Regions from separate parts of the Homo sapiens genome. Here all the other regions are linked to region 4. Evidence: promoter capture Hi-C in 16 types of primary human blood cells and fetal thymus (Javierre and others, 2016). All regions are on one chromosome and are shown on one strand. Each heading gives the region's core, a stretch centred on a gene start or on the middle of the fragment in contact. The rest is flanking DNA. Distances are from core to core; before and after follow the strand shown.

Evidence for each region. The method cuts DNA at HindIII sites, captures the fragments that hold promoters and counts their contacts. A CHiCAGO score of 5 or more calls a contact.
Region 1: a contact is called between a fragment that was not itself captured here and the fragment with the promoter of LINC01530 in region 4, in 1 of 17 cell types (fetal thymus). The highest score is 5.9, in fetal thymus.
Region 2: a contact is called between a fragment that was not itself captured here and the fragment with the promoter of LINC01530 in region 4, in 1 of 17 cell types (activated CD4 T cells). The highest score is 10.2, in activated CD4 T cells.
Region 3: a contact is called between a fragment that was not itself captured here and the fragment with the promoter of LINC01530 in region 4, in 1 of 17 cell types (total CD4 T cells). The highest score is 11.5, in total CD4 T cells.
Region 5: a fragment that was not itself captured here is called in contact with the fragment with the promoter of LINC01530 in region 4 in 4 of 17 cell types (total CD4 T cells, non-activated CD4 T cells, total CD8 T cells and 1 more); the score reaches 11.8 in total CD4 T cells.
Region 6: a contact is called between the fragment with the promoter of ZNF283 here and the fragment with the promoter of LINC01530 in region 4, in 5 of 17 cell types (non-activated CD4 T cells, total CD4 T cells, total CD8 T cells and 2 more). The highest score is 13.4, in non-activated CD4 T cells.
Region 7: the fragment with the promoter of ZNF285 here is called in contact with the fragment with the promoter of LINC01530 in region 4 in 1 of 17 cell types (naive CD4 T cells); the score reaches 5.4 in naive CD4 T cells.

What each region holds. Positions count from the first base shown.
Region 1 is chr19:43,748,272-43,752,147 of GRCh38, forward strand. It overlaps SMG9 (SMG9 nonsense mediated mRNA decay factor), which reads right to left. Exons shown (of 14, transcript NM_019108.4): 2 at 2,321-2,476. The coding sequence starts at 2,470. Among named protein-coding and RNA genes, the nearest start is that of SMG9, 4.8 kb to the right of the region's middle. The HindIII fragment of the contact is 8,040 bases long and covers 1-3,876 here.
Region 2 is chr19:44,490,297-44,494,096 of GRCh38, forward strand. All of the region lies in intron 2 of ZNF180 (zinc finger protein 180), which reads right to left. Among named protein-coding and RNA genes, the nearest start is that of ZNF180, 8.3 kb to the right of the region's middle. The HindIII fragment of the contact is 747 bases long and covers 1,044-1,790 here.
Region 3 is chr19:44,510,201-44,514,019 of GRCh38, forward strand. It overlaps CEACAM20 (CEA cell adhesion molecule 20), which reads right to left. Exons shown (of 12, transcript NM_001102597.3): 7 at 2,972-3,089; 8 at 2,668-2,753; 9 at 1,817-1,878; 10 at 1,437-1,472; 11 at 830-955. Among named protein-coding and RNA genes, the nearest start is that of ZNF180, 12 kb to the left of the region's middle. The HindIII fragment of the contact is 3,813 bases long and covers 1-3,157 here.
Region 4 is chr19:51,592,408-51,596,122 of GRCh38, forward strand. LINC01530 (long intergenic non-protein coding RNA 1530) reads right to left here and starts at 1,973. Exons shown (of 2, transcript NR_034159.1): 1 at 1,542-1,973; 2 at 1-644. It overlaps ZNF175 (zinc finger protein 175), which reads left to right. Exons shown (of 5, transcript NM_007147.4): 5 at 1-103. RefSeq lists enhancers at 417-1,052, 1,053-1,688, 1,689-2,324, 2,071-2,380, 2,591-2,640 and a silencer at 2,723-2,890. The HindIII fragment of the contact is 8,842 bases long and covers 1-3,107 here.
Region 5 is chr19:44,001,434-44,005,530 of GRCh38, forward strand. ZNF230 (zinc finger protein 230) reads left to right here and starts at 1,524. Exons shown (of 5, transcript NM_006300.4): 1 at 1,524-1,674. It overlaps ZNF230-DT (ZNF230 divergent transcript), which reads right to left and starts at 1,437. Exons shown (of 3, transcript NR_110727.1): 1 at 832-1,437. RefSeq lists an enhancer at 1,287-1,796. The HindIII fragment of the contact is 1,145 bases long and covers 1,718-2,862 here.
Region 6 is chr19:43,825,339-43,829,315 of GRCh38, forward strand. ZNF283 (zinc finger protein 283) reads left to right here and starts at 1,983. Exons shown (of 7, transcript NM_181845.2): 1 at 1,983-2,106; 2 at 2,864-2,943. RefSeq lists an enhancer at 1,841-2,040. The HindIII fragment of the contact is 6,325 bases long and covers 1-3,977 here.
Region 7 is chr19:44,400,208-44,404,011 of GRCh38, forward strand. It overlaps ZNF285 (zinc finger protein 285), which reads right to left and starts at 1,401. Exons shown (of 4, transcript NM_152354.6): 1 at 1,361-1,401. RefSeq lists an enhancer at 798-1,554. The HindIII fragment of the contact is 3,728 bases long and covers 1,054-3,804 here.

The DNA.
Region 1 (3,876 bases), core at 797-3,296, 7.8 Mb before region 4:
GGCTGCAGAACCAAATCCTCAAGCATTCTGCTCAGCTGCCTCTGCGAGGCAACAAGCCCAGGAGGAAAGGAACTAGGAGCTAGACAGGTCTGGGTGCAAACCTGATCCCGCCTCGTGTTGGCTGTGTGAACTTGAATAAGGAACCACCCTCGCCACCTTCACTTATGCCTCATTTTCCCATCTGTGAGTGGGTATGGGAATTCCTTCCTCACAGACTATGATGAGGATGAAAGGAGAGAGAACTCATCAAGTGTCTAGCATGGCACCTGACACATGGCAGGTGCTCACTATGTGAGAGCTGCTGGTGGCACTTGCTATCCTGATCACCTCTGCCTCAGCCCCCTCCTGCTCTGGCAAAGCTGGCAGGCTGATCCCAAGCCTTGACCTCTTCATGCCTCCCCAACTTACCCTCAGTCTGCTGAAGAGGGGAGAAATCTGAGTCTGAGTCCCGTTCTTTCTCTGGTTCCTTGAGTAACCTCATGAGAGTCTTGACCCCTAACTGTGTCTGTTCCTTCACCAATATACTGAGGACACTTACTTAAACCCTGCTCACTTCACTGGCTTACGGTGAAGAACAAACAAAAAGACGAAGTGAAAGTGCTTCGAAAAGAAGTTTCAAGGGAAAAACTACAGGAGGAGAGGCTGTGGACTTCCAGGAGGCTAGGAAGGGGGAGATGATACAGGCTGAGTATCTCTTATCTCAGATGCCTGGGACCAGAAGTGTTCTGAATTTGGGATTTTTTTGAACTTTGGAATATTTGCATATTTACTGGTTGAGCACCCCAAATCCATTTGCAAGGCTCCAATAAACATTTCCCTTAAATGTCACGTTGGTGCTCAAAACATTTGGAATTTTGGAGCACTTCGGATATTCAGTCTATACCTGGGATGAACGCTGTGAGGGTAGAGAGAAGACACACAGATATAACCAGGCGGCAGAATGTAAAGCACTGGTGCCTGACTAGCACAGAGGAAGCAGGGGAGAGGCGAGAGAGGCATTCAGGATAAGGCCCAATGGGCTGTCACTGATATGGGAGAAAAAAATGGGAAGAGGAAAAATGGCAGAAAGATGCCGAGGTCAGCACGGGACACAGAGGATAAGAAGCCCATGGGTGTGACAAGAGGCTGCCAGGGCTCAGTAGCACATTTAGAGACAAAGATGAGGTTTAGGAGGTGCTTGTTCAAGGATTAAACCTGAAGGTGTGGCGGGATAACATTCCCCAGGAGGGCATTATGTGGAAGGAAGAGAGACTACGTGTTCTCATTTACACTGTGGCCCAAGAGAAGGAGCAAGTAAGAGCCCAGCTCACTGTGAAAAAACTATTCTTCATGTTTGTACAGTTTTATAGCTCAGAAGCTGGCCCCAGTTGTCACCTACTTCCACCCTACCTGACATCTCTGAGGTGGACAGGGCCCTAGAGAAAAAAGCCCAGGGGGCAGGTTCTGGCAGTGAGTCACCTAGGTACAGGAGGGGAGCGAGGCTGGGCCTGGGCACAAGCCGATCCCTCCTGATTCCCAGCCCAGGGCGCTCTCTACAGCAGGCAGAGCGATGCTATATGTGAGACTAAGCTGGACCTGGATCTGAGTCCTGGACCCAAAGTTTATTGACTCTGATTTTGGAAAAGTCCCTTCACCTCTGGGGCTCATTTTCCTCATTAGTGAAAATCAGATCTATCATAGAATCTACCTCATGGGGTAGCTGTAAGGGTTCAGGAAGACCCAAAGGATGTAAAAGACTTTGCACAGTGCAAGCACAGTATAGGCTGCTCAGTAAAAAGAGTAACAGTTGTTGTTATTATGACATGACCCTTTAAAACATGAGCTATGGCACCTCTCAGCTCAAACTCTCCAATGCCAATTTCACTCAGTGAAATACAAAGTTCTTTCCAAGGCCTACCAGGTCCTACATGATTTGGCCCCAGTTACTTGACTTCATCTCCTATCTCTCTCCCTCCTTCCTCATCAATTGCAGCCATCCTGGCCTCCTATGGCTACTCCTTGAACACGCCAGATATGGGCCACCTCAGGGCCTCTGCGCTTGCTGTTCTTTCTGTCTGGAATGCTCTTCATCTCAGATGCTGGCATGGCTTATTCTCTCATCTCCTTCAAGTCTCTGCTAAAAAGTCACCTCTTCAGAGAGACCTTCTCTGACCATGTTATCTAGAACAGTCTCCTTTATCACTCTCCACCTTCTTTATCCATGAGGGTGGTAGGTTTTGTTTACAAATATATCCCCGGCATCTGGATTAGTGCCTGGCACATGGCAGGTGCGTGGAACCAAATAGATACATGAATGCTGCTCCTGGGTCCAGACACTCACCCTTCTCTCTCTTTCCCATGGTGCAATGTAGTCCCTCTCCCGACCACCAGGCCCAGAGAGATTCTGGGGGCCACCAGAGCCAGGCTCCTTCCACCGTCGCCGCCGCTCTATCCCATAGAGTCCAGGCTGACTGTGTCCAGACTCAGACATGGTTACCTATGGAGGGAATGAGGGGATTTCAGGATGACAGAGTCTCTTCCTACTCTACTTGGCATATCCTAGACTATACGAAGTCCCTTCTTTCTTTTTTTTGGAGATGGAGTCTCTCTGTCGCCCAGGCTGGAGTACAGTGGCCTGATCTTGGCTCACTGCAACCTCTGCCTCCTGAGTTCAAGCAATTCTTCTGCCTCAGCCTCCCAAGTAGCTGGGATTACAGGCACCCACCACCATGCCTGGCTAATTTTTATATTTTTAGTAGAGATGGGGTTTCACCATGTTGGCCAGGCTGGTCTCGAACTCCTGACCTCAGGTGATGCACCTACCTTGGCCTCCCAAAGTGCTGGGATTACAGATGTGAGCCACTGTGCCCAACCAAGGCTCTTCCTTTCTTCTTTTTTTTGAGACAGAGTTTCGCTCTTGTCACCGAGGCTGGAGTGCAATGGCGTAATCTCGGCTCACTGCAGCCTCCACCTCACAGATTCAAGCAATTCTCCTGCCTCAGTCTCCTGAGAAGCTGGGATTACAGATGCCCACCACCACACCCGACTAATTTTTTTTGTATTTTTAGTAGAGATGGGGTTTCACCATGTTGGCCAGGCTGGTCTCAAACTCCTGACCTCAGGCAATCCACCTGCCTCAGCCTCCCAAAGGGCTGGGATTATAGGCGTGAGCCACCATGCCCGGCCAAGGCCCTTCCTTTCAACAGAGCTCTGGGCCTGTGGTAGCAACTGCAAGCTGGTTCCCAACATCCACTCCTGACTTCTTCCAAAAAAGTAAAACCCTCAGTTCTGAGCTAGGTACATGGCTATCCAGAACAAACTTCTCATCCTTGTTTGCAGTTAGGTGTGGCCATGTGAGTAAGTACTTTCTGGCTATGGTATGACACTAGAAGTGTGGCTTGGCAGCTTCCAGAAACTTCCCTTCACAGACTCTGGCACATGCCTTCTGCCCCTTCCTCCCAGTGACAGGAATGTGGGTGTGGAGGTTGGAGCTCAAGCAGCTATCCTGGGCTGTAAGGCAATTTAATGGAAGGTACAATAAAACAAGACACAAGGTTGGGGGGTTCCACGTTAACCTTGAATTGCCTACTTCGAGAGGCAGTGAAAAACAAATACACATCTATCTCTTACTTGCAGCCAAAACTATTCCCAACTATTAAAATGCTCCAACATAAATAAACTCACAGGGGCAAGTTCACATAAAAATAGGATATTCTCCTTACCAAAATGCAGCAAGGCATTTGCTTACAAACCAGCAATGTGATCCTCAGTCCAACAGCTACTCTTGATTAGTCATTACTAGTGTATGTCATGGTGGGGCTCCAGCCACTTACTAGTGTATGTCATGGTGAGGTTCCAACACTCAAGGGCCTATTTTCACCTGGTATCCCACTACAT
Region 2 (3,800 bases), core at 167-2,666, 7.1 Mb before region 4:
GTGAGTCACCACAACTGGCCTAAACTGCCTTGAAATTGCTGCATGAACATTACAAAATAGCCCAAAATGCCAGAAAACAAAAATAAAACTCACAATGCCAAAAAATAGCCACAACCAAACTACAGATGGTACAAGGGAGCCACAAGTTTTGACCCCAAACTGTTAATGGATTCAATCTTATCTGGCCTGAAAGAAAAATTACATTCCTGATATACACCCGTGACAAATACATCTTTTCTTAAAAAAATGCCTGGGAAATGAGAAAAGTTACTCAAGAAAGGAAAATTTGTAAATGCTAACCTGTATTTTAAGTTATTACAAACTCCTTCAGATAATATCACACTCTGTTAATTAAAAAAAAAAAGCTAATATCAGTTAAGAAATAATACCAAGAATTGGACAACTTAATGTTTTTCTCAGCAGGTACTTGGCAGAAACAAAATTCCAAAATGTCACTATCTGCCATAACTGCTAAAACTATTATACTTGCAGAATATGGTTGCACCTCCTCTTGAATGCAAACTGTTTTTAGCACCTTTTTGTTTAAAAGTTTTCACAAGAAAACAAAAGAAAGCTCATCTTTCCTCAAGGTAGACTCTGGATGAAATGTCCTTCCTTGCCCTGACCCCAGCAGTCAACTCTATCACTTTACCCTGCTTTCATATCTTCACATCACATATATTCTTCTACCTTTGGCTTTTTATTTAACTCTTCCACTAGAGTGAGTTTCATAAGAGCTGAGATCTTGTCTGTCCTGTTTACCGTGACTCCACCATGCTTAGATCACTACTGACACATAGCAGGCTCTTCATAAATGTATGCTGACTATAAACAGCCACTAGGAGAAGGGACATGGAATGTGCTACCTGTAACTTTGCATTTGTCCCTGGGGTCCCTGGAGGCACTAAAGCAAAGCTGAGCTCAAGCCCCTCCCTTGGTTAGAGGAAACCTTTGTTGGGTGCCTTTTCTTTGCAGAAAATTCAAAGTGTCAGTATCCAGAACCTGCTCCCAACTTACTCTTACAAACTAAATGCTCAGAAACAAGCTTGCAACAAATGCATGTGAGCCCGTGCATGCATGCACACCCACACACCCTGAATTTTTCCCCAGGTTCTACTCACTTTGGATTACTGACCATTTTAGGAATATCTCCTGAATTTACATCTTAGCTCCCTCAGTTTCCTTCAGATAATGTCAATGTAATCTATCATTTGCCTAGTATTTTTAGTAATACATAGAGTACTTCAACACAGAATTTCCATCTCACAAAATCATCTAAACTTTTTTTTTAAGAGCTAGGGTCTCATTTTGTTGCCTAAGCTGGAGTGCAGTGGCACCATCATAGCCTACTATAGTCTTGAACTCCTGGGCTCAAGCTATCCTACTGTCTCAGCCTCCCAAGAAGCTGGGACTACAGAGGCACGCCACCACAGCTGGCTAATTTTTTTGTTTTTATTTTTTGTAGAGGTGGGAGTTTCACTATGTTGCTCAGGCTGGTCTTGAACTCCTGGCCTCAAGTGATCCTCCCATGCTGGTCCCCCAAAGTGCTGGGATTACAGGTGTGAGCCACTTTACCTGGCCTAAACTTTTTTTTGAAGAAAAGAGTAATATGTCTATTCTATTTCACCAATGCAGAAATTAATGGTAATAAGGTTTAGTAAGCTCATTTAAGTCCACTGATTGCCTGACACAAACTCTTCTGCTTCCCACTGTCTTACCAAAGTCTGTCTAATCACCCAAGGCCCAGATCAAATGCCACCTCCTCCATGAAGCGTTCCCAGATAGCAGAAAGCTTCATCTCTTCTTCTCTCAGGACTTCTTAGCTTTGGTGGCCCTTTACTATACCAGTAAAATTATTCTCTTCATATTACTACCATTTCTATATACCTCTCCCCTGGGTCCTGGGTTCTATATTAGAAAGCACTGTGTATTTTTTATCTTTGTATTCTCCTCAGTATTGAGTAGGAGCACAATAAAAGTTCTCTGCATTTGACAAGACTAGAGACACGTGCAGAGTTTGGGACATAGGAATAGAATTAAAAACTTTTACTCTACTTTCTGTATGCTCTGGAGCATCTTTAAATTACCCTCTTGTTCAACAGTCACCTCTCTAGGTCATAAAGGAGCATTTCCCTTTTTCTTTGCAGACTTTACGAAATGGGAACAGGAATTAGACTGTTGACTTGCACAGAGAAAAGGGTTGTGGGCAGGAGATAATAATTGTTCCTTCTGTAATGTATGTGGGACCCCATGGGAACCAAAGCAGGGGGAAAGAGACAAGCAGAGCTATCATGGAGTGACCTGTCCGCTTCATAGTAAGACAGTGGTCAAATCAGACCTAGGGCTAGGGCTATTTGCTCACCTATAAATAGAGATGACCAAATATTCCTTTCCCAATCTGAGGTATTCTTGGGGCAATAAAATGAAGTTTCTAATCAAATCACAGAAATATTACTGGACTCAATTCTCAGAGCTTTGCTTTGGGGGTCTACTGGCAGGAAACCCTCTATATCTGTGAGAACATTTAGAAAACACAGGCGTCACACAGGCAGACTTCTTGGTGTGTTTCCATCTCTTCCTGCCCTGGGAGCTGGAAGGTGGAGCTCACATTTCAGCTCAAGGGATATGGCGTCCACAGGGCCCATGTGGGAGGCCCTGAGGTTTCTTAATCACCAAATCTAGAAGGCGTAAAACCAATATTCACAAACTACAGCACTGGAAAGAAGGTTCCCTTCCCTGATTTTCTCAGAAATCATCCTGACAAGAGGATCCCTTTAGTCCTCACGCACAAGAAAATTCCCTCTCCTGCCCCACCTTATCATCCATGAATAATTCTCACTGTCCTGAAATACACAGAATAGACCATCCACATAGGGCCACCAACAACCTGCACAACTTCGAATGTTGAGAATGACAGTGGATGGGTGAGATTCTACCACCTACTTGGCAGCAGTTTTGGTCTCAGTCCCTGAAGGCAGGTAGGGCTCAGAGTTGGCTCAAGGCCTTCGCTGGACCAGCTGCTACTTCCTGTGTATGAGCCACTAAAATCTCTAAGGTGATGCCCCAATACCCAGATGGTTTCTTCCTAGATCAGCTCACTGGACTCGTGGCCTTCGTTCAAAGCAAAGACTTTGGCTCCCTTGATTTTTCTCTCCCTTCCAGGGTTCTAATATCCTTCAGGTCCAAATCAAGTACTTGTTCATCTTCTGATAATAATTAAAATTAACTAGAGGACATTCAGAGTTGAGAAGTGTGGTAGCCAGACTCTGAGATGGCTCCCAAAGACCCTTACTACCTAGTATTCATGCCTTTGTGTAGTCCTTGACCAATGGTACCAAGGTGGGTCTGTGTGACCAACAGAATATGGAAGAAGTGATGGTGTGTCACTTCTGAAATCAGATGATAAAAGACATTGTGGCTTCATCTTGATTGTGTGCAACTAAGTGCTCTTGCTCTCTCTCTCTCTCTCACTGGGATCACCTGCTCTGGCAGAAATCCACTGCTATGCTGTGAACGCCCTGGAAAGAGGCCTCTCTGGTGTACAGCACCTCTTGCCAACAGCCATCTGAGTGAGTTTGCAACAATATCCTCCCACCTAGTCAAGCCTTCAGAAGTCAGCAGCCCAGACAACAACTTGCCTGCAACCTCATCAGGGACCCTGAGCACCAGAAACAACCAGTTAAGCTGACCTGGATTCCTGACCCTCAGAAATTGTGTGACGAAATAAACATTGGCTATTTTAAGCTGCAAAATTTTGGGGTATGTAATAACAGATAACTAATACAACAAACAGGATGTTT
Region 3 (3,819 bases), core at 1-2,500, 7.1 Mb before region 4:
AGTGGAATGGAATGAAAAGGCATGGAATGAGCCAGGCAGGGTGGCTCATTCCTGTAATCTCAGCACTTTGGGAGGCCAAGGCGGGCAGATCAATTGAGGTCAGGAATTCAAGACCAGCCTGGCCAACATGGTGAAATCCCGTCTCTACCAAAAAATACAAAAATTAGCTGGGTGTGATGGCTCGTGCCTGCAGTCCTAGCTACTCGGGAAGCTGAAGTGGGAGAATCCCTTGAACCTGGGAGGCAGAGGTTGCAGTCATCAGAGATTGAGTCACTGCACTCCAGTCTGGGTGATGGAGCAAGACCCTGTCTCAAAAAAAAAAAGAAAGATGAAAGGAAGGAAGGAAGGAAAGAAAGAAAGAAAGAAAGAAAGAAAGAAAGAAAGAAAGAAAGAAAGAAAGAAAGAAAGAAAAAGGAAGGAAGGAAGAAAGAAAGAGAAGAAAGAAAATAAAAGGCATGGAATACAGTAGAGTGAATGGGAAGAGCTGGGATGGGGGGAAATAGAGTGGAAGGAAATAAAACCCAATGGGATGGAAAGAAAATGGCAGAGTGAAGTGATATAGAAATACAGAAAATGAATAAAGCTAAATGGATAGAAAGGAATTGGGTGGAGTGAAACATGGAATGCAATAAAATGGAGTGCGTTGGAAAGGAATGAAGTAAAACCAACTAGAAAATGACATGATGGAAATGGATAGGATGGAATTGAGAAGATTTTTAAAGGGAAATTTTTCTTCATAGTTCATCCTACAGACTCTTTAGTAGGGAAGAAAAAGCAGATTGGTGACAGATTTCCACCTGTCCAAAGACTCAGTGTGGCATAAACATACCTCATAGATTGACTCCATGTTTTTTGGCACAGTGGAGACCAATCTGAGTGGGGGCATCAGAGGTTTGGGTGGTGGCTTCCAGGGGCTGAAAGAATTGCCTCTACGGCTTGCTGAAGGCAGCTTCGTCTGCAAGTAAGCAGAGAAATTAGGCAGGGCCCACAGACACAGATTGCCAGGAATGTACCAACTTACACTCTTCAGGGACCGAGAGAGTGGAAGGAATCTGTTCAGGTTCTTGCAGAGAATCAGAGGTGGAAGCAGGGTTAGAACCCAGGCCCTTGCCCTGGCCCAGAACTCTCCTTTTTCCTGCTGGATCTGCAACCTCTACTCCCAGCCTCCTTTTCACCCCAGCATGTGCTGGTCCAGTACCACCTCATTGGCAATCCAATTCCAAGCCCTGGAGGTGGAAGGAACGAAAGAGGATCCAGGGTCATGGCATCTGACCCAGCTCTCTGTGAGGCCTTAGGCTACTCTCTTCCCATCCCTGGCCCTGTGATGTGCCATGAAATGTTTAGACAAGATGATCTCTCAGGCTTATCACATATAAAATTTTCAGATTGTCTTTCCTTCATAGATTCTTTAACCAAACCCAGCAGGGCCAATGTACCTCATAGGTCTCCTCTGGAAGGTCTGGTGGTTGCATCTGGGGAAAAACAAAGTTGCAGAGAGGTCATAGGGCTTGGAATAGGGGCTACCCCAAGAGATGCTCAGAAATAGCTTTGGCCTCAGAGGCAATTATAGCACTTCTGATTCCCAGAGGGCTCAAAGCTAGGAATTGTCATGTCAAAGAATAAGAAGACGAGGAGAAGAGATGAAAAAACCCGGGAGGGTCTTGAGATCCTCAGAGAAGTCAGAGGAGGAGATGCAGAGAGACTTAACCTGGCACTGGGTTTTCTCAAAAGATCATGCCAGCCCCCACCCTAAGAAGTAAGACTATAGCAGCCTGGTCAGGGGATCAAGGAGGGTTCCCTCTGCAGCATCACTCACCAGTTCGACTCTGATCCGTCCCTGAAGCTGGGATATATTGCGATACTCAGGACTCAGGCTTTCTAGAAAAAGTGAATCTCAGTCAGGAGCTGGAGTTCGAAAGAGATATGGGGCAAGGGGCTGTTTTTCCAGGACCCCTGACCCCAGGAAGGAAGTGCAGAAATCCTTCCCAGGACTCCCTGTCATATTTCCAGTGAGCTTGACCAGGAATGTCCTGGCAATCAAGGTCTGGGTTAGGTAAGGCTGTTTGGTGACACAGATGAGGGGAGAAATCTAAATTCTAGCCCAGTTTTGACACTGGGTCCTCTGTAGCCTGGATTTAGCCCTTTATCCCTAATGGCCTTGGTTTTCGTCTCTATAAAATGGGGCTGGATTGGACAGTTTCTAGAAAGCCTTCCATATCAAAAGGCCTATCCTTCCAGAATCCCAGACCCAGAGATGGCAAATACGTTTCATTTTGTCTTTGGTTAACTCTAACCCATCAGTAGAGGGCACTCGAGGCACTCTACTGAGATATGTTATGAGGCTGGATTTGGATTCAGCAGGAAGGAGTGTTGTGGTTGATTCATTCTGTCTACAACAATCAGTTAAAAAAGTCTTCTGAGATTGAGAAAGGAGAGAATTCCAGCCTGTTGTCCTGCTTTTGCCGGGACTGTTGGAACAGGCAGAACCCATCAGAGGGCTTGACTCCAATCTCATCCAAATTCCAGATGGGAACACAGAGGCTCAGAGTGGACAGGGCTTGCCCTGATCATACAGTGACCTGGTGGCAAAGCTGGGAGCCCCCAGCACCAGCCTCTTCCCCAGCCCTCACCCCTGCCCCAGGCATCAGCCACCATAGAGTCACTTACCGGAACTGGGCTCTGTGGGGTGCTCCTCCTTCGGGATGGGTTGTGAGGTCTCATGACTGGGGTCCTCTGTTGTTTTCCTTGAGGGCCTGAAACCCCAAAGCCCTCATTATTCTGTGCCTCTAGTCCTTGCCCATCTCCACAGGTTCTGCCCATATCCCATGTCCATTCTTGAACAATGCCCACAACCCTCTGAATTCCCCAGGTGCCAGACAAGACTCAGCACCATGGTCAGCAACACGCCCGGCAAGCGCCCCCTGCTGGCCACATCCCCATCCCCATCCCCCTCCCTGTATCCCTGTGTTACCGTCTGGCATTTCTGATGCAGAGAAAATAGCCCAGTTCTGAGGCCACAGCAATGACAGCCAGGATCCCGATGACAATACCAGCGATGGCCCCTGAGGACAGGGAGGAGGACTGGGGACCTGGGCAAGGAGACAGAATCAAGACCCAGGCTTGACACACCCTCATCCCTGCTCCCAGCCCGTTCCCAAGCTTGCAGCTTTTTCTCTACTGACATTTTGTGAGCACTTGTTTTCCAGTCGTTGGGAGGTATCAGATTGTGGTTTTTGGTTTTGCTTTTTTTTTTTTTTTTTTCAGACAGGGTCTTGCTCTGTCACCCAGACTGGAGTGGAGTGGCGTGACCTCAGCTCACTGCAACCTCCAGGTTCAAGTGATCCTCCCACCTCAGCCTCCCCTAGTAGCTGGGACTACAAGTACCTGCCACCATGCAGGCTGATTTTTTGTATTCTTTGGTAGAGAGGGGGTGTTTCACCATGTTGGCCAGGCTGGTCTGGACCTCCTGACCTCAAGTGATCCGCCCACCTCAGCCTCCCAAAGTGCTGGGATTATAGGTGTAAGCCACTGCACCTGACCTCAGTCTGTGGTATTAACAGCATCATTTCTAAACTAAAACATCCAGTTTCTGCGTCCAAATTTCAGCAGTGTGACTTTGGGCATGCTACTTAACCTCTCTAGGCTTCAGTTGTCTCTTTTGTAAAATGGGAACAATAGGGTTTATAGGGCTTCTAGAAAGATTAAACATACATGTATTCATTTTCTATATATATAGTGTTTGTTTGGAACCATGGAAAGTGATCAGTAAATGTTGGCCATGATGACAATGTCAGTTAGGATAATGGATCAAATATGGCT
Region 4 (3,715 bases), core at 723-3,222:
TGGTGGCTGTCCACCATGAGTACAACACAAATGCTCGTTCTTAATGATTCAACAAACATGGAATTTCATTAAATCTGAAATAAAGGTATTTTGAGAAATTGAATTCCGTTATCAAGTGTGAAGTCCTGATCCAGACTCACCTCGTGCACACTATTTACCACAAAGGTGGACTCCCTATTTTAAATGCATTCACTTAAAGAGACCTTTCCCTGTACTAATTAGTGTTTGTTAAGAAGGACCTTCTGGACATAGTTGAAAGAAAGAGAAAAGAAGCAGGTGTGGGGAGGAGGAGAAGGAGAAGGGAGGAAGGGAGGGAGGGGAAAGAAGATGGATGGACAGATGGAAGGAAGGAATTAGGGATGGCAGAAAGGAGATAAAATAAACTCTACTTTTAAAAGAAACCAGGTGGGGTGAGTGGGAGGGCTTCCCTGTGACCTTGGCCTCAGGGGCTCTTTCTGGCTTCCAGATAAGATACCCCTCAGCTTTGCACTGGGTCTCCTGAGGCTTGGAAGTTATGTCCACAGTGAGGTTGGTGTAGAGGGGCAGCCACTCTTTGGAGAGCAACCTGTAGCCCAGACAGTTGATGCCATCATCAGAGGATCCAGGGATCGGAGGATTGGCGGATCCGGGACAGAAGGCGAGGCCTGGAGGATGGGGAGGGGCAGCCATGTGAGCCTCAGGGAGGACCCAGAACCAACCACCCCACTTCCAACACTGATTCACCTCCAGGGCCTCTGCTTGTGGCCAGGATCTTCCCCCTCCAGCATATGGTAGCCTCTGAAAAGCAGGTGGGGCTGGGAGAGGAGCATCCCGCTTAGTTTCACCCTTCCAGAGACACAGGAAGGCATGGAGGCCAAACACCTGTCTCTGACAGGGTCCCCATGCCACAGCCCAGCCCTCCAGTCCAGGGTAGCCCATGTCCCCCTCAGCCCAGGGCGGCCCATACCTGCCTCATCATGTCAGGACCTGCAGCTCCTGCCTCCCACCTGGCAGTGATGTCATCCTCATCATCCCAACCCCACTACACGTTGGAGAAGCCATTTATCTTCAGGTAGTGAGTGGGGTGCAGGGCAAACACCCCTCCAAGGCACAAGCTAACGGCTTAATTGCTGTTGTTTCCCCATGTTCTGGCTTGCAGCACTTGTAACCTCTGGGCTCCTGCAGCCCTTAACATCTGATACCTTTACATTAAGATTTATCATCCTTATCTCTGGACCAGGCTGAATACACCTGTGTCCCGGTGCATCTGGCCAGCGGGTCAAAGGGCCTAGCACACAGATTAACAAATGAATGAGTTCCAGTTACCAAAGTTCAATCCTTGAGGTGGACAGAAGACGCCCAAGGCGTGTCTCCCATCACCCTTCACTCTCAATCCTCCTTATCAAGGGCCTCACGGGAATAGTGATAAGATCTCAGAATATACAGGAGGGAGCAGTTTCGGGAAGGGGGGCATTGGAAGGAAGTGGAGGGCTTGGATCTGGGGAGCAAGCGGGGAGAGTGCTCCGTTCCTTGGTTTTGGGATCTTGCCTTACGGGTCTCACCTGCCCTCCATCCTGGCTTCCACCTGGCAGGGTGTGTTTGTGTCAGAAAGACGATTGTGCGTAACTGTTCACCGCGTCCACGTCCCGAGAGTTGCGCACGCGTGGAGATCTGCAAAACGCTCCCTTTCAGCTCCGCGCATGCACAGAGACCCCACCCCGCAAGTCCTTGCCCTTCGGCCTGGGCAGGCGTCCACTCCCATGGCTGCAGGGCGCGCCGAAGAGCCCACTCTGCATCCCCGAGACGCGGCCCAATCCTAGGAATGTGCTTAGCGCAGGTGCTATCTTCCCTTTTCACATTCCCAATCTCTTTCTCCGCCCCCTCAAACTCTTGCCATACTCCCACAACAGCAGAAAATCTGAAAAAAAAGTCCATCCCATCTTTGCACTGACAGCAGTGCACAGCAGCTGGCAGAGAATTCTGGCACGGCTATTGTGCTTGCGCAGGCGCAGACGGGAAGCGGGCCGGACCGGCCTAGTACACTCTGGGAGGCGTGCGCAGAATGCGCAGCGCTGCCGCGAGGATCTCTGGGAACTGTAGGCCCAGTTTGTCCGAGAGCCGCAAGTGTTTCGGGACGACGCAACGCAGGGGCACCTGGGAGTCGTAGGCGGATGGGCCCAAAGCCTTCCGGGAGTCGTAGTCCTTCCGCCCGCTCCTCGTTTCTTTGGAGGTTGGCCCTTCCAGCTCCAGTTCTGCCCAGGTGAGCGCCCATCCCGCGGCCGGCCGGTCCTGGCCCTTTGTCGCGATGACGTGGCGGAGTTGAGGGTCTCTGTATTTCTCTCCCCCGCGTTCTGGTAGGCGTCCCTGGAAAGATGGCACCCTTTTCCGTGATCTCTCAATCCCTCTCTCCGGGTGGGAGTGCTCTAAGCAGCTGTTGTACCTGCTGACCCGCTTTGGATTCTGCGGCCCAGCCTGACACCTTCTCACTCTCGCCCTTCAACCTGGGTGCAGTGCGAGTGCACCCTCCTCTGTCCTGGTTACAACACAGAGTGGTCAGGGCTGGCCCAGGGGGTGCTCAGGAGGCTGTGGGAACACAGAGGAGGTGCTAGACCCAGCCCAGGGTTCAGGAAAGACCTTACAGAGCAAAGGACCTCAAATCTACCACATCCAAACGAAATCCCAGATTCCCTGTCCTAAACCTGCTCCTCTCACAATCTTTCTGCCTCCTCCCCACTAACTGTCCATCCAAGTGCTCAAGCCAAAATCTTGGAATGGTCGCCAGTGTTCTGTTTCTCTCATCCGCTTCCCTCCCGCAACCAAATCTTGTGTGAGTCTCATCGTCTCTATCTCCAGAAGAGGCCCAGAATCTAACCACTTCTCTCCACTTCCACTGTCTCCATTCTGCTCCGAGCTACCGTTACTCCTCACCTGCATCACTGCAGGGGCCTCCTCACTGTTCTGTTTCTTCCCTTGCCACACTCCACCCTCTATTCAGGCACAGTGCCAGGAAGCCTGTGGAAATATAAATCAGATCCTGTCACCAGTCACTACCCTGCCCCCCAGCTTAAAATCATCCAGTGGTTCCCATCTCAGAATAAAATCCAAGCTCCTTATCCTGCCAACCTCTAAGCTTCTGGTCCTTTCTGGTCGTCCTCAGTCACAACACACTTTCCAATGGGCTGAACACAGCCAGGCCCTGCCCTTCATGTCCTTTGCATTTGCTATTAACTCAATTTGGAGCATTCTTCCCACCCTGACCCAATATCTGTCTACTCATTTTGTTGGCCTCAGCTCAAAGGCCTCCAGCCACCCTAAAGAACCCCCTCCCTGTTCCCCCCCCCCCAGTCATACCACCAAAGATAATTCCCTCGTATTTGGAAAGCATCTTAGTCATTTACTTCCTTATCCATGGCCTGGTTCCTCCATTAGAACATCAGTGCCCTGACAGCTGCAACCTTTCCTATCTTGCTCACTGCTGTGTCCCAGTACCTAGAGCATGCTGGGTACATAGGCGGCACTCAGTGGGTATTTGTTAAATGAATGAATGAAAGTTTGAGCTGAGACTTGAAGGTAAGAGTTAGGTCTACCACAGTGTTTAGGGAAGTGTCTTGCGCAATGAGATCAGCCTGGCCAAAGATGCAAGGGGTTGAAAAACCAATGGGAAGTTCATCTGGCTGAGGTGAGTAGGTAACTAAAACAGGGATGCAACTGGATCTGATAAGGACCTCAGGAAGTG
Region 5 (4,097 bases), core at 1,040-3,539, 7.6 Mb before region 4:
AGTGATCACTCAATTTTCAGAGAGCGGATGTTTGGCATCAAAAGTTTGGCACAGTCACCTTATTTTTGTGTCTAAACAAAATTTTGAAAAGTTTTTAGTTTAGAAAAATAGGTAAACAGTAGACTCCATTTTTTTTAAAAAGAAGAATATTGGTTTATAGGCCAATGTATGTTTATAGGGAGAAAAAAAGTTACCTTCAAAAGAGCAGGTTTTTAGATGAATTGTTTCCTAATTTAGCTTTATACTGTTATTATTTTTTAACCAATGCCAGTTTTTAAATTGCTAACTATAATAAAGAAATTATGTTTCACCAAGAAATAAGAAGAAACTTAAAAAAAAAAATCTTTAATTATTGAGGTATCTGTTGCCTAGGCTGGAGGGCAGTGGTGGCATCATAGCTCACTGCAGCCTCAATCAAACTCCTGGGCTTCAGCAATCCTCCCACCTCAGCCTCCTGAGTACTTGGAACTTGTAGTCCCAAGATCAGGCCACCATGCCTGGCCAGTTAAAAAAAAATTTTTATAGAGACGAAGTCTCCCTGTATTTCCCTGTCTGGTCTCCAATTCCTGAGCTCAAGGGAACGTCCTGCCCTGGCCTCCCAAAGGGTTGGCATTACAGGTTTGAGCCACTGCGCTTGGCCAGGAAGAAAACTCTTTATAAGACATGCTCCTTCACCTATAGAATCCTCCCGTTTTACTGCATTTACAATCTCAATGTAAGATTGATACCAATGCCTAGCTCTTCATCAGTCATTATTGCTCTGAGGTACTGAGCAATTCACTACATTCGCTGAAATTTGATGTTTCTACATCTAAGGAGAAATATGAATACCATGAAAAGTTTATGGGAAGATAGCTATTCCATGACGACACCGCTTCTCCACTAGTAGCTGTGATCTTAAATGGGGGTGGCTTTTCCTGCCAAACCAGTGGTCCCACAGCTTCTGGAGTAGGGGCTGGTGTCTTCCTGCTCCTCATTGCCCCTGCCAAACCATTCCACCTGGCTCATCCTTTAAACCGTTAGTTTTAACCTCCCATCGTCAGATTATCCTAATCCTTGAAGATTTTATCTCCTCGTTTGTTCTCTTCCCAATAACACTCCTGTCATCGTGGGAGGCGTTTAGACTTCAGGAATTCCTGTCTATACACTATTTTCGCTCAAAGACTCAGGAAGAGAGACGGACGACTCACAGGGTCACAGTCCACATTCCCCACCAGGCGCTCAGAGATATGGAATACGTTCCCGGTGGGCACTGCGGTGTGTGTAGTCAAGGACCACCGCGGAGTCCAACGCTTCCCGCTGAAGAGTGAGATTATAGACATTTTCCTTTGGCATTGGAGGAAGCGGAGTCCAGACACACTCTGAGTCGCGGGCAAGTTGGCTCAGGCGGGTGGACGAGTGAATTCTGGGAACTGTAGTCCATCAACTTCATGGAATGGCGGACCCTTTGGCTCAAGCAGTTGAACCGGGGAATTCTGGGAAGTGGAGTCCAGACGCTCTGTGGAGACGCGAGCACTTCCGGTGTGTGAGCCTGCGGTTGCTACATAACCGCGTAGTTTGAGCCATTTCTGCGTCTGGCGGGTCCTTCTGAACTTGTCACCTTCGCTTGGGGTCGCAACGACCCGATGATCGATGATCCAAGCAAGGGAAAAGAAGCCTTGGCGGAGAGCGGAGGTTTGGTGGGGGCGGGGAATGGGGTTTTTTTCCCGTCCACGGAAGCTTTCTGGGATGGGGGTGCTGTGCTCGCATCCCGGGGGTTGGAATTGGCGGGGTCCTCTGTGCCCTGCTGTGAGCGTTTCCAGGACTTTGACCTCGCTCAGCCTGCCTCTCTCCACCCTACCTGTGCGACCGCTTTCTCGCAGTGTGACGTGGAGTGTTACTCAATGTCCTTATACTTTCCATTGCTGTTTTTGGTAATGGGGACATTAGAACCATCCTAGTAGAATCGTTTTTGGGAACTGAAAGAGATAACGCAAATGAGAACCTTAAAGCAGTCCCTGTCACTTGGTGACTGGTGGTCTCTTGTTAACTTCCCGAAGAGGTCAGGTCCCCGGGTGGAGTCATAGCTTCAGCTGCAGGGGCCCTGGTCCTTCTCCCTAATCCCTGCAGGACGCTGGATGATCCCGGGAGGCCTTCTGACCTCTTTTTAGGAAAGCGAGTTGCGTCCGCTTCCACGAAGGGCGGGGAGCATTTAACTTTTATGGGGGACCGCGATGCAGTCAGGGTATTTCACAACTTTCGCCTTCCCCAGCCTGACCTTTCTAAAAGAGCTGCAGGGAGGGGACTTCTTGGCTACTGAGGGCAAATCTCTATGTGATTGGTCCTTGGCTTTTTTCCTTTATAGAGATGTTCACCCAACCGAGAGTGTGTCCTCGGGAATGGGTGTTGATAATCATTAAGCCGTAATTGGTAACTTCATTCTAAGTGCTTTATACAAATAAATTTAGGCCACACTGTGGCTCTGTGAAGTATTGCTTTTCTTTGTTTTAAAAATGAGAGTGAGACACAGGGTGCATAGCAGCCAACTAGTGAGAGGTAGAGCTGGGGTTGGCACCTAGGCAGTCCAGGTCAGAGCCTGAGTTGATCACCTCTTGGATACATTCTCATTGAGGCAGAGGAACTAGCTGGACTCGTAGGGAAAGCAAGTTAGGACCTGATTGAAAGGACGTTGAGAGCAAGGCTCGTGGGCTTGGACGTCTAGGAATTTTTAAAAATTTCTCAACTATTTTGTTTCATGTTTTCCAAGTATTTCGTACTGTTGTGGAACTGTATCATTGTGGAAAAGTCTGAAATAGGAGAAATGAGAGTAGAAAAAGTTTTTTAATTACCCATGTATCCAAGATGTAAAGGTAGTAACTGTTAAGCTTCTAATTGATTTCTTTTGTCTTTCTTTGTGTCTACTTCTATATTTGTTGATAAACATTTTTTTAAAAATTGTTATATTTTAATGTGTTTTCCCATATGTCTTTTAACTATAGAAAATTTTAAATATTGCTAATAGAGACTAAACTAGTGAGGCTGGTTGTGGTGGCTCATGCCTATAATCCCAGCACTTTGGGAGGCCAAGGCAGGTGGATCACTTGAGGTCAGTAGTTTGAGACCAGCCTGGCCAACATGGTGAAACCCCATCTCTACCAAAAATACAAATATTAGCCGGGCGTGATGGCACGTGCCTGTAGTCCCAGCTACTCTAGAGGCTGAGGCAGGAGAATTGCTTAAACCCGGGAGGTGGAGGTTGCAGTGAGCCAAGATCACGCCACTGCACTCCAGCCTGGGCAACAGAGTGAGACTCAAAAAAAAAAAAAAAAAAAAGAATAAACTAGTGAACTGCCATATTATATAATGCTCAATTTTATTATTCCCATTATCCTTATGACTATTTCCTGATATCTAAAATATTTTTGCTGGGCGCGGTGGCTCACGCCTGTAATCCCAGCACTTTGGGAGGCCGAGGCGGGTGGATCACGAGGTCAGGAGATCGAGACCATCCTGGCCAACATGGTGAAACCCCATCTCTACTAAAAAAAAAAATACAAAAAATTAGCTGGGCATGGTGGCAGGCAGTTGTGGTCCCAGCTACTCCAGAGGCTGAGGCAGGAGAAAGGCGTGAGCCCGGGAGGCGGAGCTTGCAGTGAGCGAGATCGCGCCACTGCACTCCAGCCTGGGCTAGGGAGCGAGACTCTGTCTCAAAAAAAAAAAAATTAAAAACTAAAAACAAAATAAAATATTTTCATCTTTATATCATTTAAAAGCTATAGAAAAGTTGCAAAAATAGTATAAGGAGTTCTCATACTCTATCCAAATTTGCCAATTGTTTACATTTTTCCTGGTTGCTTTGTTGATGACCATCAGCCAAATACCACCAGGAACATAACTAACCAGAGACAGCTGATTATGGCTTTCTGCAGCAAGGAAGCCCACATACCATGGTAAATGTGGGGTGTGTTGGTAAGAGGTATTTAAGAAGGGATGGTATAGGGTTTCACATAACATGCTAGATAATATTAGATATTAAATAATATTGTTATCTATTACATATCAGATCTGTTAAAAGACTACTAGTAGTTGTAGTGTTACTCATTAGATAGTGTTGAATA
Region 6 (3,977 bases), core at 733-3,232, 7.8 Mb before region 4:
TCCTTTTTTTTTTAAGATGGAGTTTCCCTCTTGTTGCCCAGGCTGTAGTGCAATGGCGCTATCTTGGCTTACTGCAACCTCCACCTCCCAGGTTCAGGCAATTCTCCTGCCTCAGCCTCCTGAATGGCTAGGATTATAGACACCCACCAGCGTGCCCGGCTAATTTTCGTATTTTTAGTAGAGACAGGGTTTCATCATGTTGGCCAGGCTGGTCTTGAATTCTTGACTTCAGGTGATCCAGCTGCCTCAGCCTCCCAAAGTGCTGGGATTACAGGTGTGAACCACCATGCCCGGCCTGGAGACTATTATTCTAAGTGAAGCAACTCAGGAATGGAAAATCAAACATCGTATATTCTCACTCATAAGTGGGAGCTAAGGTGTGAGGATGCAAAGGCCTAAGAATGACACAGTGGACTTTGGGGACTTGGGGGAAAGGGTGGAAAGGGGGTGAGGGATAAAAGACTAAAAATTGGGTGCCATGTACACTGTTCAGGTGATGGGTGCACCAAAATCTCACAAATCACCACTGAAGAAGTTACTCATGTAACCAAACACCACCTGTTTCCCAAAAACCTATGGAAATAAAAAATTAAAAAAAAATCAGACCCCCAAAATATTCAGAGTAGTACTTGTGGGAGTCATTGAGCAAGTAACATGGGAAGAGAGGAGGCTGCTTCCACCAGTGGTTTTGGAGGTGGAGCAGATGCTGATGATAATGAAGTCCCAGATGGGAAACGGGGATGGGTGCCGAGGAAAGCTCAAGGACCCTGCAGATGAGGACTCAGACCCACGATACTGGATGAGGCATCCATGTCACCATGGGAGTCAACCAGGGTAGTGGCCTCAGCTGAGGCAGGGGAAAAGCTGGGATCCAAGAGCTCTAGTCTTCTCTTGATAAGCAAGAGAGACCAGGAGGTGAGAGATGGCAGAGGATGAGAGAGGTGATATCAGTGACCAGAAAGAGCCCCTAAAAAGTAACTTCCTTTTCTTTCTGTTAGTTTTAATATAAAATTTCGCTTTAATATTTTTAGACAATTCTTTTTTAAAAAAGTATTTATATCCAAAGGTTCTTACCACACCAACCACAGCCCCAATCTTTTTGCCCTAACCTCAGAATCAGTTAGTTGTCTCCTTTAAAACCTTTCTCTCTCTCACACACCCACACACACACACACGCAAACACACAGGAGAGAGAGAGAGGGAATATATAGTATTGTTTTTGGAGTATGAGTGTGTGCTTCAGAATAAATGGTTTCATACTCTATAAAAAATGAGATTCAAATTTTATAATCCATCAAGTTTTATTGGAACACAGCCATGCTGGATTGCTTGTGCATTGTTTATGGCCGCCTTTGCACTGCCATAAGTCTCCACGGTCACAATATCCACTCACTACCACTTATTGTTGTCTTTCAACAGCGGCATATAAAATCTGTAACACAGTTCATCTCACACCTAATAAAACAGACTCACACAGGCATAAATTTAGAAAACATCCCATGAACATAAACAGGTCCACGCAGGGTCCCAGACACCGAATCGAACTAAGAAACTCCCTCACAGCAAGACACACCCATCTGTTCAATTGCCAGACACTGTTCCAGGCGCTCATACCCAGGTAAACTGGTAGTGTCGCGCAGGTCATTTCCAGCGAACTTACCCCGGATTCCCTTGCTCGCTCACGTCTAAGTCCCCAGACACCCCAGTCCCATCTTCGCCTGTTCTAGACTCCAGAATGCGTTCCTTAGCGAAAGCTGAGAACCTTTTAATTCGCTCTCAGTCAACACCAAAGACCCTCAAGCAAAAGCAAGAGCTCCCGGGCGTCTTCGAAAAAAGCGCCTTTGACAGGTGAAGCCAAGTTGCATGCTGGGAGCATCCCTGCTGTCCAGGTTTCAACTTCCGGAGACTCTGCCGCTGTGGACTACATTTCCCAGAAGTCTCCGGGGCACAGGCCTTTTAGGGGCGGGGCGAGCTTGCCTGCCAGAAGCTCCTCTCCCAGCCTGCGAGCATTTCCAGGCTCTTGTTTCCCATCAGCCTCTGGGTCCAAACTAACCACAGGTCTCTGGGTCCTTTTCCGGTGTCCTTAAGGTTCTTGGACTCTGCATGGTGAGTTGGTCGTGTCTGTAGAAGTAATCAGCCCGGGTGAAGCTGGGAGGGCTCGGCTGGCTTTACTGGGGCCCGACTGGAACCGGCAGTGAGGGTGGGGGTGGCATCGGGGGTGCTGGAGGTGGGGAGGGCTGGGTCACGGACAGAGCGTGTCGTGTCCGGATCCTCAAGCCTGTGTGCACGCGAGCAGCCGAGGGACAGTGTGTCTCAGACGGCGTGGCAGGGACGGGGCGTGTCCCCACGGAGGTGGGTGCAGTTGTGAATGTGTGACGGGCTGACAGGGTGCGTGGCCGTATTTGTAAATGTGATTTGCTTTGACCAAATGCTCTAGGTTCCCTTTAGCCTGTCTTCGGGCCTGCCACAATTAAATGACCGCAAGAAAGAAGTCTATGCTAAGCCCCATAATGAACGTTTCAAGCAAGAAGGATGAGAATTTTAGATCTGGAAGTGTCCGCGGGACAGGATCTTGTCAAGACCTGATGGGGAAGTTCTAGAGGTGGGATTCCTAGAAGAGGGGCCTCTAGGAGCTCTTTGGTGGTGAGCTACATGTTTCAGAGCCATTGCAAGCAGACCTCTGTCCCCAAGAATTGCCCTCAACACAGAGACAGACTCTAGCCTCCCTTTTCATTCCGTTTGGTTTTGTGTGGATGAAGGCAGAAGTGGCCCCAGAGGGTGTTTTGCTCTTCTTTTTCTTTTTTAATTAAGTCTGTGACGCGCTAGAAATGCTGATGTCTCATGTTACTGTTTTTTCCCCCAGTGCTGCCAGGTTGCCAGATTTCTAAGAAGGAGTTTGAAGAGGAGAAAAGGATTTTTGCATGTTTAGAAATCAAGGTTCAGGTGAGGTTTTTTATACATACTTTTTAAATACATACACATACAATTACCTTTGCTTCTAGGTCATGAGAACATTTTCTTTCCTTGGCCTGAAATATCTTGACTGGGTTTTCCCAGTTACATGACCCGCCATGCTGGTACATATTTCCTCCCAGTGGCCCCCTATTGTTCTTCTCCACAATTCTTACCCACCTGTTCATATGGCAAATTGTTCAAATACTTCAGTGCATTATGATGCACTGAAGAGTTATAGAAAGGCACCTCTTGTAGATTGCTATTAGAGCATTATTTTATACTATGATTATTTGAAGAGATTAGTAATTAGGTGGTGTTATATAAACATTATTTTTTATCTTTTCTGTAGTCATAATTAAAATTTTTTTTTAACTTTTTTTAGAGACAAGGTCTCACTCTGTTGCCCAGGCTGAGTGCAGTAGTATAGTCATAGCTCAGTGCAACCTTGAAGTCCTGGGCTCAGGTGTTCCTCTGGCCTTGGCGTCCCAAAGTGCTGGGACTGCAGGTGTGAGCCACCATGCCTGGCCCATAGTCATGATGCTTAAAGAAAGGCAAGGTATAAGGGATTTTAAGTAAGGGAATGTTTCTGGCAGTAAATGACAATGTTGTCTGCTTTGTGAGGCTTTTAGGGGTGGAAATATGATTGAGCTTTGAACATAGGGATTTGTAATTTGCACCAACAAGAGTGGGGACTTTCAGATAATCTTTAGATAGAAATCTGTAACATTTCCAAGCATGACTTGTTTGAAGTCCAGCTTTCTGTGGCATGTAAGAAGCCGTACTATGTTGTAGTTAAAAATAAGGCCCTGGGGTCGGGCACAGTGGCTCACGCCTGTAATCCCAGCACTTTGGGAGGCTGAGGGAGGTGGATCATGAAGTCAGGAGATCGAGAACATCCTGGCTAACACGGTGAAACCCCGTCTCCACTAAAAATACAAAAAATTAGCTGGGCGTAGTGGTAGGCGCCTGTAGTCCCAGCTACTCGGGAGGCTGAGGCAGGAGAATGGCGTGAACCCGGGCGG
Region 7 (3,804 bases), core at 151-2,650, 7.2 Mb before region 4:
ACAAATGCCTTTCTCATCCCTCACCCTGACAACTACTCTGATCTGAGGAATGCATCAGGAATGAGACCAGATGCCCATATCAACTTCTTCAGGGAATGAAGACCTAGAGGAAAAGTGCAGCTGAATCTGGAACTGCAATTGCCCAGAAACACGATCAGAAATGTAATAAATGCTGCTATTACACCTAAAATAATTAACACTAAATCTCTAACTTTATCAAATATACAGAGAGTGTTCAAACTTCAAATTTGTTGAGTGTAATTTAACAACTTATATTTGCTAATGTGCTTTATAATACTCAAAGTCCCTACTCCCTGGCTCACAGCATGTGAGGTGAGAATGGAGTTAATAATTTGGGGCAGTTCTTTTCTTTTCTTTTTTCTTTGAGACAGAGTCTGGCTCTGTCGCCCAGGCTGGAGTGCAGTGGCGTGATCTCAGCTCACTGCAAGCTCCGCCTCCCGGGTTCACGCCATTCTCCTGCCTCAGCCTCCCGAGTAGCTGGGACTACAGGCGCCTGCCACCGTGCCCGGCTAATTTTTTGTAATTGTTTTTTGTAGTAGAGACGGGGTTTCACCGTGTTAGCCAGGATGGTCTCGATCTCCTGACCTCGTGATCCGCCCACTTTGGCCTCCCAAAGTGCTGGGATTACAGGCGTGAGGCACCGCGCCAGGCCTGGGACAGTTCTTTTCAAAATGTATTCGGTGACATTAAACTCTGGAGTTATTACAGTATTACAGTCTGAGTTGTTTCTTTATTGCCAAAAGCCAGAACCTCTGCCTTGAAGTCATAAATGCCCCAATGGAGTCAGAGCTGCCAAAATCCAGAGTTCAGACCCAAGACAACTCCCCATCCAAGAACCTAGGGGTGCTGAGCCAGAATCGCCCCCACCAAACTGAGCGAGAACAGCCGAAGCCATCCTCTATATCCAGAGACTAGCTGCTTAAGCAAATCCCTCATCCCATTCAGGGACGCACAGTCCAGCCATTACTCCAAAACCCTGAGCCAGCGCCCCTCTGCCCTCATCCAGAGATGCACATCCCAAGACTGACCCTAAGCTTCGACCCGAGGAGGCACAGCGCAAGTCGCTGTCACGAAACGTGAAGATGCACTGTTTTGTCAAACCCAGGGCTGCTCCCCAAACCGAGCCCACGCTCGAGCCCACGCTCTTCCCATCCTATCCCGGGTAGGTCGGGCCGCTGAACTTCCCTAGTCTACCCCACCTACGAGGCCTTATCATTGGTTACCAGTCCCCTCTTCCACTCCTCCTACTTCAGTCCACAGGGACGGGTCACAGCTGCACATCCTACACTCCTACTCCTGGCTACGCCTCCAAGAGGGGCGCGGTACAGACGGGACTCACCCCAGCGTCCCAAACAATGTCGCCCGCAGCGTGCGTCCAGTACCATGGCGCATGCGCAAGGAGGCCTATGGCCTACAATCCCCAGAAAGCCCCGCGCGCAGCAGTGGCCATTCGCAAGGCTACCCTGGTGAAGGTGGCCTTTGACTTCCGTGCATTTGGAAGTCCTTTGACTTCCGTGCATTCGTCTAAAATAACGACAATCATAATAACGATAAAATAATGAAATGTTAAATAAATCACTATCAACGATGAAAAGAAGTTTCAATATTTTACTACTTGGAAATGGGCACTTTACCGTTTTAGTGAAGACTTTTATAAGTTCTTATTTTATAGGCATGTCTTTTAACGTTAAAACCACGAAACTTTTCAATTAACACTCACTTAAATAATTCCCTCCCCGCCCCCCACCATGTTTTATTTCTGTTGATGAAAACTCTGGATAATCTACACTTGCGATATAACATAGCCCTGTAATTTATTTCCTAGTCTCAGAAGAAGCAGAAGGAATTAACAACTATTGTCTGAATCCTTAACAGGGGAATTGCAGGAGTACTGAGAGTGTCCTAAAAGAGACACATTACAACATAACAAGAAAACGCGGGAAGTTTTCAGATTCTTTTTGAAAATTTGCCCTTGTTGAGACTTAGGCTTTATTTTACTTCATGTTATTGCATTTAAGATTTAAGATTTCTATTAAAGAAAAATTTGGGTACCCTAAATGGGGTAAGAAAATTGAATAGGAATTCCATTAGAGGCCCACAGTTTTAGCCTGGAGGAAAGCCCTGATAACGTGTGAGAACAATCTGTCTCCTAGGAAAGGTCACCTGGTCCTGCTGGCAGAGTCTCTGTTTGGAATATCTGGCTGGCATTCCCTTTTCCACGCACCCTCAAGCTGTAGGGGTGGTGAGGCGGTTCCAGTCCTAGACTAGATAGAGAAGTGAAGACCCCCACCTCTACGCAATGGGCAGGAAATGGTTGAATAATATCCAACTATAGCTTGACATCGCAGCTTAGGGCACATAAAGGGACAGTGCAATTGTTTTGGCTTATCTCTGTCTTTTGATGTTTACATGTTTGATGTTCTTATATATTGCTCTAAGTTGAAGGATTACTTGATTTAATTTGACATACTTGAATTTTAAAAAACGAGTTCAGGAACATTTTTATTTTTGACCTAATACAAGGTTAATTTTTGTGACATCTGTGTCTGTTGGAAAACAATGTGTCTTCTCTATCAGATGGATATGCATACATTTATATTTTCCCCAGACTTGCTAACTGTGCTATTTAAATTTCCTACATGCTTATTTGTGCTTACTTAGATTTTTTCATTATGCATCTGTCAACGATTGAAAAGTGCATGTCAAAAAGGTTCCCAGTCTGGGCGTGGTGGCTCAAGCCTGTAATCTCAGTACTTTGGGAGGCCGAGGTGGGCAGATCACGCGGTGAGGAGTTCAAGACCAGCCTGGCCAAGGTGGTGAAACCCCATCGCTACTAAAAATACAAAACTTAGCCAGGCATGGTGGCAAGCACGTGTAGTCCCAGCTACTTGGGAGGCTGAGGCAAGAGAATCACTTGAACCCAGGAGGTGGAGGTTGCAATGAGCCGAGATCATGCCACTGCACTCCAGCCTGGGCGACAGAGCAAGACTCTGTCACCAAAAAAAAAGAAAAAAGAAAAAAGTGAAAGAAAAAAAAGCCTATAATGGTAAATTTGTCATTTTCCTCTCTATAGCATTTGCTTTATTTATTTATTTATTTATTTATTTATTTATTTCCTTTATTTTTTTTTTGAGACTGAGTCTCGCTCTGTTGCCCAGGCTGGAGTGCAGTGGCGCCATCTCAACTCACTGCAAGCTCTGCCTCCCAGGTTCACACCATTCTCCTGCTTCAGCCTCCCGAGTAGCTGGGACTACAGGTGCCCGCCACCAGGCCCAGCTAATTTTTTTGTATTTTTAGTAGAGACAGGGTTTCACCGTGTTAGCCAGGATGGTCTCCATCTCCTGACCTTGTGATCTGCCCACCTCGGCCTCCCAAAGTGCTGGGATTACAGGCGTGAGCCACCATGCCCAGCCTGCTTCATTTTTCAAAAGTCAAGTTACTAGGTATACAAATGGCTTTACTTTTTAAAAGTTGTGTTGTTAGGTATGGAAGTGTTGTATTCCTTATCTGAAATACTTGGGACCAGAAGTGTTTCAGATATTTTATTTTTTTCAGATTTTGCAATATTTGCATATACGTAATGAGATATCTTGAGGATGAGACCCAAGTCTAAATGCAAAATTCATTTGTGTTCCATATAAACCTTATACATGTAGCCTGAAATTAATTTTATAGAATTATTTTGAATAATTTTGTTCACAAGGTTTGTATACAATGTTTGTGTGCATTGAACCATCAGAAGCAAAGATTGCCTTCGTCAGATGACCAAAGAAAAATCAATGA